4 separate regions of the Homo sapiens genome follow, and all the other regions are linked to region 3. The links are contacts of gene promoters, found by promoter capture Hi-C in blood cells and fetal thymus (Javierre and others, 2016). All regions are on one chromosome and are shown on one strand. Each heading gives the region's core, a stretch centred on a gene start or on the middle of the fragment in contact. The rest is flanking DNA. Distances are from core to core; before and after follow the strand shown.

What was found. The method cuts DNA at HindIII sites, captures the fragments that hold promoters and counts their contacts. A CHiCAGO score of 5 or more calls a contact.
Region 1: a contact is called between a fragment that was not itself captured here and the fragment with the promoter of PHF3 in region 3, in 1 of 17 cell types (total CD8 T cells). The highest score is 5.0, in total CD8 T cells.
Region 2: a contact is called between the fragment with the promoter of ATXN1 here and the fragment with the promoter of PHF3 in region 3, in 2 of 17 cell types (naive CD8 T cells and total CD4 T cells). The highest score is 6.1, in naive CD8 T cells.
Region 4: a fragment that was not itself captured here is called in contact with the fragment with the promoter of PHF3 in region 3 in 1 of 17 cell types (total CD4 T cells); the score reaches 5.2 in total CD4 T cells.

Annotation. Positions count from the first base shown.
Region 1 is chr6:17,669,863-17,673,119 of GRCh38, reverse strand. All of the region lies in intron 5 of NUP153 (nucleoporin 153), which reads left to right. Among named protein-coding and RNA genes, the nearest start is that of NUP153, 35 kb to the left of the region's middle. The HindIII fragment of the contact is 674 bases long and covers 1,011-1,684 here.
Region 2 is chr6:16,759,582-16,762,709 of GRCh38, reverse strand. ATXN1 (ataxin 1) reads left to right here and starts at 1,250. Exons shown (of 8, transcript NM_001128164.2): 1 at 1,250-1,412. ATXN1-AS1 (ATXN1 antisense RNA 1) reads right to left here and starts at 1,572. Exons shown (of 3, transcript NR_136240.1): 1 at 1,544-1,572; 2 at 431-591; 3 at 1-358. RefSeq lists an enhancer at 1-796 and silencers at 797-1,116, 934-1,149, 1,157-1,316, 1,793-1,922, 1,993-2,472 and 1 more. The HindIII fragment of the contact is 4,299 bases long and covers 1-3,128 here.
Region 3 is chr6:63,634,267-63,637,355 of GRCh38, reverse strand. PHF3 (PHD finger protein 3) reads right to left here and starts at 1,554. Exons shown (of 16, transcript NM_001370348.2): 1 at 1,206-1,554. RefSeq lists silencers at 780-959, 1,400-1,759 and enhancers at 977-1,797, 2,329-2,866. The HindIII fragment of the contact is 3,030 bases long and covers 1-2,574 here.
Region 4 is chr6:8,437,724-8,440,800 of GRCh38, reverse strand. LOC100506207 (a long non-coding RNA gene) reads right to left here. Exons shown (of 5, transcript NR_038980.1): 2 at 2,770-2,861. Among named protein-coding and RNA genes, the nearest start is that of SLC35B3, 3.7 kb to the right of the region's middle. The HindIII fragment of the contact is 6,003 bases long and covers 1-3,077 here.

The sequences.
Region 1 (3,257 bases), core at 98-2,597, about 46 Mb after region 3:
TGGGATTACAGGCGTGAGCCACCGCGCCCAGCCAGAAGTTTTACTTTTGATGACATCTTTTGTGTGTGTGTGTGCGTGTGTGTGTATTCTTAATGGTTTCATGCTTTTGGTGTCGTATCTGAGATATTTTTACTATTATAATCCCATGTCACAAAGATTTTGTCTTATGTTTTCTTCTACAAGTTTTATAGTTTTAGGTTTTAATTTATGCCTATGATTCATTTTGAGTAGATTTTTGTGTGTGGTATGAGGTATTGGTCAAGGTTCATTTTATTTTCTAAATTAAAAAGTTTTTTTAAAAAATGAAAGGTAGGAGTCTTACTACGTTGCTCAGGCTGATCCTGAACTGCTGGGCTCAAGCAATCCTCCTGCCTCAGCCTCCCAAAGTTCTGAGATTACAGGTGTGCCTGGCCAAGGTTTTTTGTTTTTTGTTTTTTGTTTTTTTAACATATGGGTGTGCAATTGTTCTAGTGTTATTTGTTAAAAAGACTGTTCTTTGTTCATTGAATAGCTTTTGCACCGTCTTTGTTCTGTGTTTTTGTTTGAGACAGGGCCTTGCTCTGTCACACAGGTTGGAGTGCAGTGGCACGATCATGGCTCACTGCAACCAGAACCTCCTGGGCTCAAGTGATCCTCCCACTTTAGCCTCCTGAGTAGCTGGGACCACAGGCGTGTGCCACCATTCCCAGCTAAATTTTTTTTTTGGTAGTGACAGGGTCTCACTAAGTTGCCTAGGCTGGTGTTGTACTCCTGGGCTCAAGCGATCCTCCTGTGTTGGCTTCCCAAAGTGTTCGGATTACAAGCATGAACCACCAGGCCTGGCCTGCACCTTTGTTGAAATCCAGTTCACATGGCTTTATTTCTGGACTTTTGACCATCCCTCCCCCGACCCACCCATTGATCTGTGTGTCTTTCCTTTTGCCAACTGCACTGTCTTGATTGCCATAGGCTTCCCGGTAGGTCTTAAAATTAGGTGATGTGAGTAGTCCAATTTTGTTCTTTTTCAAGCTTGTTTTGGCTTTTTTAGGTCCTTTGCTTTTCTATAAAAATCTAAAATTGGCTTGTTTCTACAGTCTGCTAGGATTTTGATTGGAATTGCTTTTTTTATTTTTTAGATGGGATCTTGCTCTGTTGCCCAAGCTGAAGTGCTGTGGCATGATCTTGGTTCACTGCAACCTCCACCTCCCAGGTTCACACAATTTTCCTGCCTCAGCCTCCCAAGTAGCTGGGACTACAGGCACACACCACCATGCCCCACTAATTTTTGTATTTTTAGTAGAGACAGGGTTTTACCATGTTGGCCAGGCTGGTCTCGAACTCCTGACCTCAGGTGATCCGCCCACCTTGGCCTCCCAAAAGTGCTGGTATTATAGGTATGAGCCAGCATGCCCAGCCATGATTGAGATTGCATTTGAGTCTAAAGACCAATTTGGGGAGAATAGGCATCTTAACAAAATTGAGTCTTCCAAACCATGAACATGGTATATCTTCCCATTTAGGTGGTTTATAAATTTTTTTCATCAGTGTTTTGTAGTGTTCAGCATACAGATCTCGAACATATTTTGTTAGACTTATTTGTTAGACTTTTGTTATTTGGTATTAGTCAAGAATATGTAGCCTGAATAACTTTTATCTTTTCAGTGAATTGAGTTCATAATTTAAAATACGTTCCAGCAAAGAAGCTTCAGGCTCAGATAGCTTCCCTGGTGAATCCTACCAAACATTTAAGAAAGAAATAATACCAATTCTACACAAACTCTTATGTATAGTAGGAGAGTAGGGAACACTTCCCAGTACCTTTTATGAGGCCAACATTATTACCCCGAGACCAAAATCAGACAAAGACATTAGAAGACAGCAACAGACTATTATTTCTCATGAATTATAGACACAAACCTCAACAAAAATATTTGTAAATGGAATCCAACAAATTTAAAAAGGAAACTGCATCATGATCAAGTGGGGTTTATCCTGGGAAGGCAAGGTTGACTCAACATATGAAAATTAATGGGATTAGACCAGGTGTGGTGGCTCATGCCTGTAATCCCAGCACTTTGGAAGGCCTTAGATCACCTGAGGTCAGGAGTTCGAGACCAGCCTGGCCAACATGGTGAAACCCTATCTCTACTAAAAATACAAAAATTAGCCGGTTGCAGTTGGACGTGCCTGTAATCCCAGCTACTCGGGAGGCTGAGGCAGGAGAATCATTTGAACCTGGGAGGCGGAGGTTGCAGTGAGCCGAGATTGTGCCACCGCACTCCAGCCTGGGCAACAGACTGAGACTCTGTCTAAAAAAAAATAAAAAATAAAAAATTAATGGGATTTACCATGTAAACAATCTAAAGAGTACTATATGAACATCTCTATAGATACATAAAATATTTTTTAAAAATCCAACATTTAGTCATGATAAAAATTTTTGAACAAACCTAGGTATAGTTGAGATCCTTCTACCTGATAAAGTGCATTTACAAAAAAATCATCTGGCAACATACTTAATGGTATGAGGAAGCAAGCAAGGATGTCTGCTATCACTGCTACTGTTTAACATCATACTGCAGGTGCTAGCCAGTGCAGTAGGCACAGAAATCAATGCATGCAGATTGGAAAGGGTATTATTCCTGTAATATTTTTACTGTACACAGATAACATGCTTATCTACGTAGAAAAATCCAAAGAAAATACAAAAAAAGCCACCACAACTAATAAGCGAGTTTAACAGGGTCACAGGATACAAGGTCAATATACAAAAGTCTGTTGTATTTATATACATATATTGGCAGCAGTGACTATGAAATGCCTATATTTGAAGATTTTTGTCTTGTTTTTAGATGTTGTACTTGCTTTCCTGTTTATTCTCCCATATATAATTAACAGTAATTATGAGACTTATTTCTGAGTGTTGGTGGAGGACAGTATTCTGTTATTACCGAAGGGGTTAACAGAATGGTGTAAGTATGTAGAGAGCTTTTTCTAAAGCTTAAGCTAGCGTGTAGTACTTTTTTTTTTTTTTTTTTTTTTTTTGAGAAAGAGTCTCGCTCTGTTGCCCAGGCTGGAGTAGAGTGGTGCAGTCTCGGCTCACCACAACCTCCGCCTCCTGGGTTCAAAGCAGTTCTCCTGCCTCAGCCTCTCGAGTAGCTGGGACTGCAGGCACACACTGCCACGCCTGGCTAATTTTTTGTATTTTAATACAGATGGGGTTTCACCATGTTGCCCAGGCTGGTCTTGAACTCCTGAGCTCAGGCAGTCCGCCCTCC
Region 2 (3,128 bases), core at 1-2,500, about 47 Mb after region 3:
CCGCACTGAGCGCCCTTAGTCTGGAGGCGCCTCCTAGTCCTCCAGGTGCCACACCTGTTGGCAAGGTGCACCCATCCGAAGAAGATTCCTTCGCGTGGAGGTCACACCTGGCGGCGAGACAGGCGGAGGGGCGGGGTGGTGGGAGTCGGAGACCGCACTGAAACCCTGAGTCCAGATTTAAGTTCCTCGTCGATTCTCGAGAACTGCCATTTGATGCTCCGGTTGCTTTCTCTGTCTCCTACACTGGTTACCTCATTTCCGATTAAATTAATGATCCGAAATTAGCTGCGAGAGGAGTGCGCGGGTCTCCTTTCCAGGCTAGAGCGGAGTAGTTCCATATCAAAGCCGATTTCCGGACCTGCGTGCGAAGAGAGAAAGAGGGCAGGGTCGGGCGGTCGCCAGCGTTCGCCGGCAGGAAAGGTGAGGGTACCTGTGCAGTCGGGGGACCCCTTGAAACTTTCCGGAGTTGCACGCAGAGGCAATCCCCGCGGCCCCCAGGCCTGGGTTCCGGAACGCCGAAGCGACGCCGGTTTGTGGCTTAACGTGCAGCTGATGATCAGAGTGAGCCCTCTCAGATGCTGCTCCGAGCGCCTGGGACCAAGGACACGTCGGGATTAGAATGGGCCGACCTCCCCTCCCCGCTGGGGTGTTGCATCGGCTCCCAGCTGAAGCCTGACAGCCCTTGGGGGAGTCCCCCAGGTTGCCTGAGTAGCGCCCCGTTGTCGTTCAGTCCCCTCCAACTAGGTGCAGGGACCCAGGGAGGCGCGCGAGGACCGACCCGTCACCGCTCAAATTACCTCATCGCCCAGCTCCCCGCCCCCTTCCCAAACCTGGAAGGAACCTTGCCCTCCGGTCCGCGTCTCCCCTCCCCCGCACCCCATCCCGAGCCACTCTTTGGGAAAGGTGCCCGCCTCCCCGGGCGGCGCGCAGCGAAGGGTTAAGGGCGCGGGCCGGCCGCCGCGCGGTGCGCTCGCCGTGCTCTGTGCGGCTCGCCGGGCCGCCCGCCAGAGGGTGCCCCCCACCCCCATGAAGTCGGATCCTTGAGCTGCGGCGGCGGCAGCCAACTGCTCCATATTTGGCTTCTATTACACATTTACATACTGGAGCGAGCGAGCGAGCGAGCGCGAGAGAGCGCGAGGGAGGGAGGGAGGGCGGGCGGGCGGAGGGAGGAGGGAGGGGAGGGGAGCGGGAGGAGGGGGAGGAGGAGGAGGAGGAGGAGGAGGAGAGAGCAGAGTATACCGCAGACATCATTTCTACTACAGTGGCGGAGCCGTACAGGACCTGTTTCACTGCAGGGGGATCCAAAACAAGCCCCGTGGAGCAGCAGCCAGAGCAACAGCAGCCGCAAGACATTGTTTCTCTCCCTCTGCCCCCCCTTCCCCACGCAACCCCAGATCCATTTACACTTTACAGTAAGTGACTATTTTTTTTTCCTCCTCCGATTCTTTCCCCCCTCCCCCATTCCCTTCTCCCCTTATTTAGATTAAAATCCCTCCTCCCCCGATCTCCCGAGAGGGGCAAAAGCAACAACCAGCAAACAAACCCAAAACCCCAATCGGCTGCACGGAAAACAGCTGGAAGAGGAGCGAAGGAAATCGACGCGTCGTGTTCTGTGTGTGTGCGTGTGTGTGTGTGTGTGTGTGTATGTGTGTACATACAACCGTCCCCGGCTCCAGGCTCCCGGGCCGACACCCCCACTCTGGGCGCAGGGGCGGCCGGCGGGGGGGCTGTCAGGGGCTGGGTGGGCGCCCGCCGGGCTAGGGGGCGCGCCCGGGCGGGGGGCGCGGGCGGGGAGAGCGGCGGCGGCGCCCCGCTCCCCCGGCTGCTGGTCCGGTCGCAAGTGCGGAGAGCCATGTCCTCCTCCCTCCGGGTGGCGCAGGGGGGAGGCGGCGGCTGGGGTTGGGGGGTGGTCCCTTTCCCGGCCGCCCTCTTCCCATTCCTCCTCCCCGGAGAGGGCGGTGAGAGAGAGGGGGTCTCACGGAGGGCTGGACTTCTCCGCGGGTGGTCGCCCGGCCTCGGCGCCCTGGGGCGGGGGTCTCCCCTCGGAGGGCCGGCCTCGCCGGGTGTGCGGCTGCGGGCGGGGAAGGGACTGCTCCTGCAGCCGGGACGGGACTTTGCGCGCGGCCGGGTGCCGGGCGGGGGGCGCAGAGGGGTGGCCTCGGGGACCGCGCGGGGGTAGCGGGTGTGCGGGTGCCTGGAGCGCGGCTGGAGTGGCGGTGACGGCCCTGGCCGCCGCCGCCACCGCCGCCCTGTTGGTGCGGCCGCTTCCTGATCATGTGCAGCGGCAGCCGCCGCCCGGAGCCGGGAGCCCGCGAGCGCCCCAGTCCGGGCCGGCGCCCCCGCCAGCACCCGCGGCAGGAGACGAGGAGCCGCGGCAGGCGCTGCCCTGAGCCGGGAGTGAACGGCTGCGCGGCTGCTGGGAGGGTGAATGAAGCCAGGAGGAGGGGAAGGAGGAGGAGGCGGCGGCCGCCGCGGAGGAGGCGCTGCGGGGATTGGGATGCGCCCTGGAGCCCCACTGCTCGTTCACTCTGGGCCGGGCCGGAGACTCTGCCACTCCCGGGGGCGCCGCCGCCTCCTCCTACGTGGTTCCAGTGCTGCGCGCAGGCCGGTCCCGCAGGGGGCAGGGAAGGGGGCCGGACGGGCGGAGCGAGAGGTGAGGCGGTGTCGGAGCGCGGCGTGAGTGTGAGTGAGTGTGTGAGTGACTGTGTGTGTGTATTTGTGCGCGCGCGCGCCGGGCGGGGGGCGAGGGCCGTCGCGACGCGGAGGGGGCCCTTCCTTGGCTACTTGGCTGACTCTGCAGCGCCCCGACCCCTCTTCAGCCCCCCGCCTTCAGGCTGCCTTCTTAAACTCCGTGGCTTGTGCTTTCATTTTGTTTCAGACCACGTAGGGGGCTGACTGAAAGGGATGAAACAATTCAGGTTTTCTAGGGAGATTGAGCAAGAACCTTAGTGGGGGTGGAAGTAGGGTGGTGATCGAGACTCTGCCAGAAAACAAAACAAAACAAAAAAAAATCCGTTTCTAAGGACGGCGGGGATTCGGTTCGAGCCCGTGGCTGCTCTGTTTTGTTTTGCTTTCTTGGTATATAATCCTACAGATAAAAGGGTAATATAAATATTTGAGAAGAGGGA
Region 3 (3,089 bases), core at 305-2,804:
GAATCGAAAAATGAATAATGGAGGCGTAGTTTTGTTAGGCCTTTAACAATCATTTTGTCAAAGGGAAGACAAGTTCGACCCCAAAATAGTAACTAAATACAACAACGTACTGTTTAAGTACTCCCTACAGAGTTTACTGCATTGGTTTTTAAATTTAGCTTAAAATAAGATAGTAAAGTTAGTATTTAGAGAAGCCTCAATAATCGATTATTCTTTTTAAATTAAATATCGCTACATGTAATGCAGATTAGGACTAGAATATTAAAGCAGTGTTGCCACTTAACATTAATCCATGAACATATTCTACGCGTGACTACTGGAAAGCACTAATAACCACCCCAATCTAGTCTCTAGGAATTGGCATTTAAAAGCCCAAAGATGGAAAAAGGTCACCTAACCCGGCAACACATCCTGAGGGAAAGGAGGGACACAGGACTCCGTGCGCGATATCAACATTCTCTTCCTTTCTACTCTCCGCACCGCCCCCGCCCCCCGTGTCAGGTGATCAGTTATTTAGCACCATTAACACGTACGTATCGACAAGTGGTTCATTAAATTACATGTATTATCGGAAGGCAAGAGTCTAGGCTTCTCATTTCAAACTAAGCAAAAGGAGTCCACAGTTTGAGTCCCGGGCACAAAAGCGCGCGGTAACTGGAGGATAAATGGAAGAGCAACTCTCATCTCCAAAAAGCAGCAGCAGGGAGCAGCCTAGCAGCCAGGGCCAGTCCCAGTTTCCCGAAACCAAGGCCCAAAGCTCCATGCTGGGGCTCCCTGAGAAGGAAGAGGCCCCAACGGCCGGATCCGGGGGCCTGCGAGACGGGCCTTCCAGGCAGCGCCCGCCGTGCCTCGGGCCTGCGCGCCCGCGCCTCAGCGGCGGCGGGGCGCCCTCGCAGCAGACGGCTGGGTACCAGTGGTCGGGAGAGAGGCCGTGGTCCCGACCCTCCGCCTGGCGACCGCGTCGCTGCGACTCCCTCCCCAGCCCGCGGTCCAAATGGTCCACAGGCGCCAGCGGCGCGGCCCAGGTAGGCCGAGGACGTTGCGCAAGAGGCCCGAGAGGCGATCTCTCGGCTGCGCGGGAGAAAAGCGCGGAGAGTCCGCCGCGGGAGGGGCGGAGAGGCCCGCGGAGGCGCTGTGCGTGTGGAAGGGGATGGGGGAGGGGAGGATTGCCCGTCTCCCTGGCCGCGGCCACAGCCGCAACTCACCCAGCTCCGCCAGACGAGCGCTACCACTGGCAGCAAGAGGAAGATGGTGGACGCTGCCGCCGCCGAAGAGGAGGAGGAGGGGGCCCGGTGGGTGCCGCGGAGAGGGGGTACGCGCAGGACGTCGGCGTCGCTGCCACAGCCTCTTTTCCTCCTGGGACCAAATGGCTGCTGCTGACGACACTATTCTTGGCTTCCGCGCCGCCCTCCTAATCCTCGTTGCAGCCGCCGCCGCCCTGAGCCCGAAGGTCGCTTGCCGCGTGGGGACGGTGCGACGGCGCGAGACCCCGCAGCCATCGGCGTGCGGCGGCGGCGCGGGAGCTGGAGAGGGGCCGTGTCACGTGACCCCACTGTTTACCGTTCCGGGGGCCGCGGCCTGCGTCGCTGCCGCGCCTGCGCGCTTTAGGGCCTCGAGCGCCGCGCCTCCGTGGGGCCCCGGGCTGCAGCGCTTCCCGGCGTTGCCGCGCCCCTCCCTGTCTTCGGAGGACGCGGCACCGCCTGCGGGCTTCTAGCTCACACCTCCGCGCCGCCGGGAGGGGCGAATCAGAGGAGCGCTTTTTCTCGACCGTAGTAAGCACTAAGGCTTCACAGTTAATATAATATTGATGCGCAGCTCCCCAACCCCAGGTACTTTTTATTAATTGACTGTGAGTTCAAGAATGGTAGAATAGGATGGAGTAGATGAGCCCTCTGCCCAAATATCTGTGCTGGCTCGGCACAGCAGCCTTACCATTAACTACCTCCGTTACCCTCACCCTACATGGCTGATCTACCTCAGGACTCAAATTGCTACCTCCAAGAAACATTCTTGGTATCCAGTAAGCAGTCTTCAGAATGTGGTCCCAGGTTTCCCTGAGGGGTCGCCAAGACCTTTCAGTAGAGCCTCCATTCCTTTGCCAGGAGCATGTGTCTAAGGCCAAATTTTCTTCCCACCCTTCAACCAAAACAGCATATAGCAGCTGATTCAATGCAGAAACAGATAAGAGAATCCAGCCATCTTCTATTAAGCCAGACATTGAGGAAATCTGCAGAAATTTTAGATATCACCCTTTTATTAATTTGGAAAATATGCTTTTCATAAATACATTATTTGTGGTAACAAATATTGTGTAGAGGTCCAGAGACAAAAAAAGTTTGAGACCCACTGGTCTGCTTCCACAGACACTTGAGCTAACCCCTATCTCAGCCCTTAATAAGCGCTGTGAAGTAATTGTTGCTTGTCAGTCACTCCAACCAAAAGGAGCTACTTAGGGACAGGGTTTGTGGCTTTTATCTACAGGGACTATTACAGTATTCAGCCAGTACCTGCTGAGCACCTTACTGTGTGGTCTGCACTGTTCTAAAACCTTTACAGTACTTGTTGATTTAAGCTTTAGACCAACCGCAGCCCACATTGTAAGATTAGTGCAGGGTGGAAGAATAAGTCACAGGCATGTGGTGAAGATCTGTTCTTTCCTCTCTCTAGTCTTCTGATATTTTAAGCACTCTTAATAGCAAATGCTCTTCTACAAAGGAAGTTTGGGTTGTCCTGATTCCACTGGATTCTTAAGAGTTTCACCCCCTGTCTTGACTAATCAATCCCTCAAGACTTTGTTTTACAATCTTTTTGTAATGTGTTTTTGAGAAAGGAAAATAGAAATGAGTAATTTTTTTTTTTAATTCTCACTTGGGATGTCTGGGATGAATTATAAAAACAAGCCTAATGTTATTCTTACTCTTCTGGTGGATCTCAGTGTGACGTTTTAAAAGGGCGTTCAGAAAAAGTAAAATTATTGTTATAAACAAAATCCAACCCCGAAGGAATTCAACAGAGTAGAACTTGATGACGGAGACCACTAGCTGGAAAATCCCTTAGAAGGGCTGAGGAAAACTTACCTTCTCAGAGAA
Region 4 (3,077 bases), core at 361-2,860, about 55 Mb after region 3:
ATGAAGAATTTTGCCCCATGCCAATTATCAGTACTGGGAAAGAAGAGGAGTCATGGCTGGTGTCCAGGTGGCCCAGTTCTGTGAACCTCTATCCATTTAGGAGACAGCAGAGAAAAACTGATAGCCCTGGAAGTCAAGCAACCTACAGGGGAACTGAATCTATAACCACAGCCTCATTAGCATAGCCTATAGCTCCCATTGCATCCTGTAGTTAATACCCTTATCAACACAAATCACACTATAATTACTTGTGTAATTAATTATCTCCACCACACAAGGCTGTGAGCTTTGTGAGGGCAGGGATCCATGTCTGTCTTGTCATCCACATATCCACAATACCCAGTAGCATGCAGAGTAAGTGCTCAATAAGTATTTATTAAATGGATATTTAATGAAAATCAAATTAACTAGTTTTTCTGCTCAGTGCATCTGGAACCATATATCTATCAATGAACTTCCTAGTTTGGAAATGCTATATAACCTATTCCTTATGGAAGAGCTAGAAAAGTGACAACTGATGACTATATATAAATGGATTATTCTAATGATAGTAGGCTATATTAATAAGAATATTAATAGCTAACTTTTACTAAGTGTTTGTCAGGTAATAGGTGTTGTGCTAACCATTTAACCATCTTTAAACATCTTTCACTTACTCATCACTACAATTTACCACATAGGTACTACTGTCATTCCCATTTCACAGATGGGGAGATTGAGACTTAGAGAATTTAAGCAATTTGCACAAAGACACTCAAAGAGCAAGGGGTGGTGCAAGGATTTAAATTTAATCTGACACTAGAACCTGAGACTTAACTATGCAAGATGATTCTTCACAGACACATGACTAAGTAACACCAATTGACACGAACTGACATTGTTGATCACTCCTTCCTCCTTTAAACATTGTCTTCACCTGGCTTTTAGAAGACTGTACATTCCTGGACCCATCCTATGTCAACAGCTGCTTCTTCTAAGTCTCCACTGCTGGTTTCTCTTTCTCGCTCCCCCAAGTCACATGACTTGATTATCTAGGACATCCTAAAATACATAAAAACACCTCCCAAAAATTGCTCCTAGGAAATGGAAGGCATTTATCCATAGGTGCCCATTCCCCATTGGTGGATCATTGCCTGGGGGTGTTAATGCCACCAAACTTCCCAAGGGCCAGGTGTGTGTGTGTGTGTGTGTGTGTGTGTGTGTGTGTGTGTGTGTCAGGAGTGACGGCATCTCAACCCTATCTGAGCACTGTTCCTGAAAAGGATACTTGCTGATGTTCACAAAACAATGTCAGTGTTCTATCAGGCCAATTTCCTCCAGTTGATACAATATATGGTAGGACCAGTGGAATTCCATGGTCGTGTGTCATTGTCACACCTCTTTTACCATAAAGTGTGTCCTTTAGTTGGAGGCAATACATCAGAAAATCATGTGTTTGGGCTGGGTGTGGTGGCTCACGCTTGTAATTGCACCACTTTAGGAGGCTGAGGTGGGCAGATCACTTGAGGTCAGGAGTTCACAACCAGCCTGGCCAACATGGTGAAACCGTGTCTCTACCAAAAATACAAAAAAATTAGCCAGGTGTAGTGGCAGGCACCTGTAATCCCAGCTACTGGGGAGGCTGAGGCAGGAGAATGGCTTGAACCTGGGAGGCAGAGGTTGTGCCACTGCATTCCAGCCTGGGCAACAGAGTGAGACTCTGTGTCAAAGAAGGAAGAAAGGAAGGAAGGAAGGGAGGGAGGGAGGGAGGGAAAGAGAGAAAGAAAGAGGAAGGAAGGAAGGGAGGGAGGGAGGGAGGAGATGGAGGGAAGGAAGGGAAAGAAAGAAAAAAGAAAGGAAGGAAGAAAAAAGAAAAGAAAGAAGGAAAAGAGAGAGAGAAAGGAAAGAGAGAAAGAAAGAAAGAAAAAGGAAGGAAGAGAAAGAAAGAAAAAGAAAAAGGAAGGAAGGAAGAGAAAGAGAAAGAAAGAAAAAGAAAAAGGAAGGAAGGAAGAAAGAAAAAGAAAGAAAAAAAGAAGGAAAGAAAGAAAGAAAGAAAGAAAGAAAGAAAGAAAGAAAGAAAGAAAGAAAAAAGAAAGAAAGAAAGGAAGGAAGGAAGGAAGGAAGGAAGTCAATCAATCATGTGTTTGTAACTCTGTTATATAATGGTACTGGCAGAGGCACCATGAACAAGACCAGTCATATCAAGGGAAGTGTCAGTTCCGTAAGTACAAACCACGGCTCTCTCCAGGAAGGAAGGACTTTTGTGTAATTGCTCTCCTTATGGAATTTACCATCAATCTTTGCTGCTGATGGGCTGGACATCCAAAGAGGCAGTAGTCATATCGGCTTTAGTAAGAAAGAGCCTTAATTGTTGGGCCATGCACATGTCCTCCCCTTAATATCACTAAGAAAGTCCTTGTTGTCATCTGACTGCAAAGTAACCCACTTCCAGAGTTCTGAGGAGCTGCATTCTAGACTTTCTTCTTACATCAAATTTCTTAGCTTGGTTTCCCTCAAAACCTGAGACAACTACTTATGTGGGGACAGGTAATTTGGGATGTGATCCTAGTGAGAAACAATGAGAGAATGGAAGGGAGAATATAGACATAATACAAGAATGTGTTATTGAAGTTGCTGTTGTGAGAAACCAGAACCCAATTTCACTGGGACTTTTTGAAAAACACACAGAATGGCCTACAAAACTATCTTGCTCAAGTGTAAGAAGCAAGAGCATTTATCCATCAGTGACTGTCACCCCTTGGTTGAAGGGCCCCAGATGTGTTGACTTACCAGCACTTCAAAGCTGTGCAGGACAGGAGCTGAGAGAGCTACTGCTGGAATGTGTGAAGTCCGAAGAACCTCAGGGAAGAAAGCAAAGAGGCCTGGTAAATGTGGGAGAGGAGAAGCTGTCAGGGAGAAGAATGTGTAAGATTGCATGAAACTGCCCCCCACAACCAAGTCAGAAATGAGAGGTGATGCTCAGAAGATGTGAATCAAGACACCAAAGGTTTCTGATACTACAGAATTATTAATTTCTTAAAAATTTAAAACCAATTCATAGGACCAGGCGCAGTGGCTCACGCTTATAATCCTAGCAC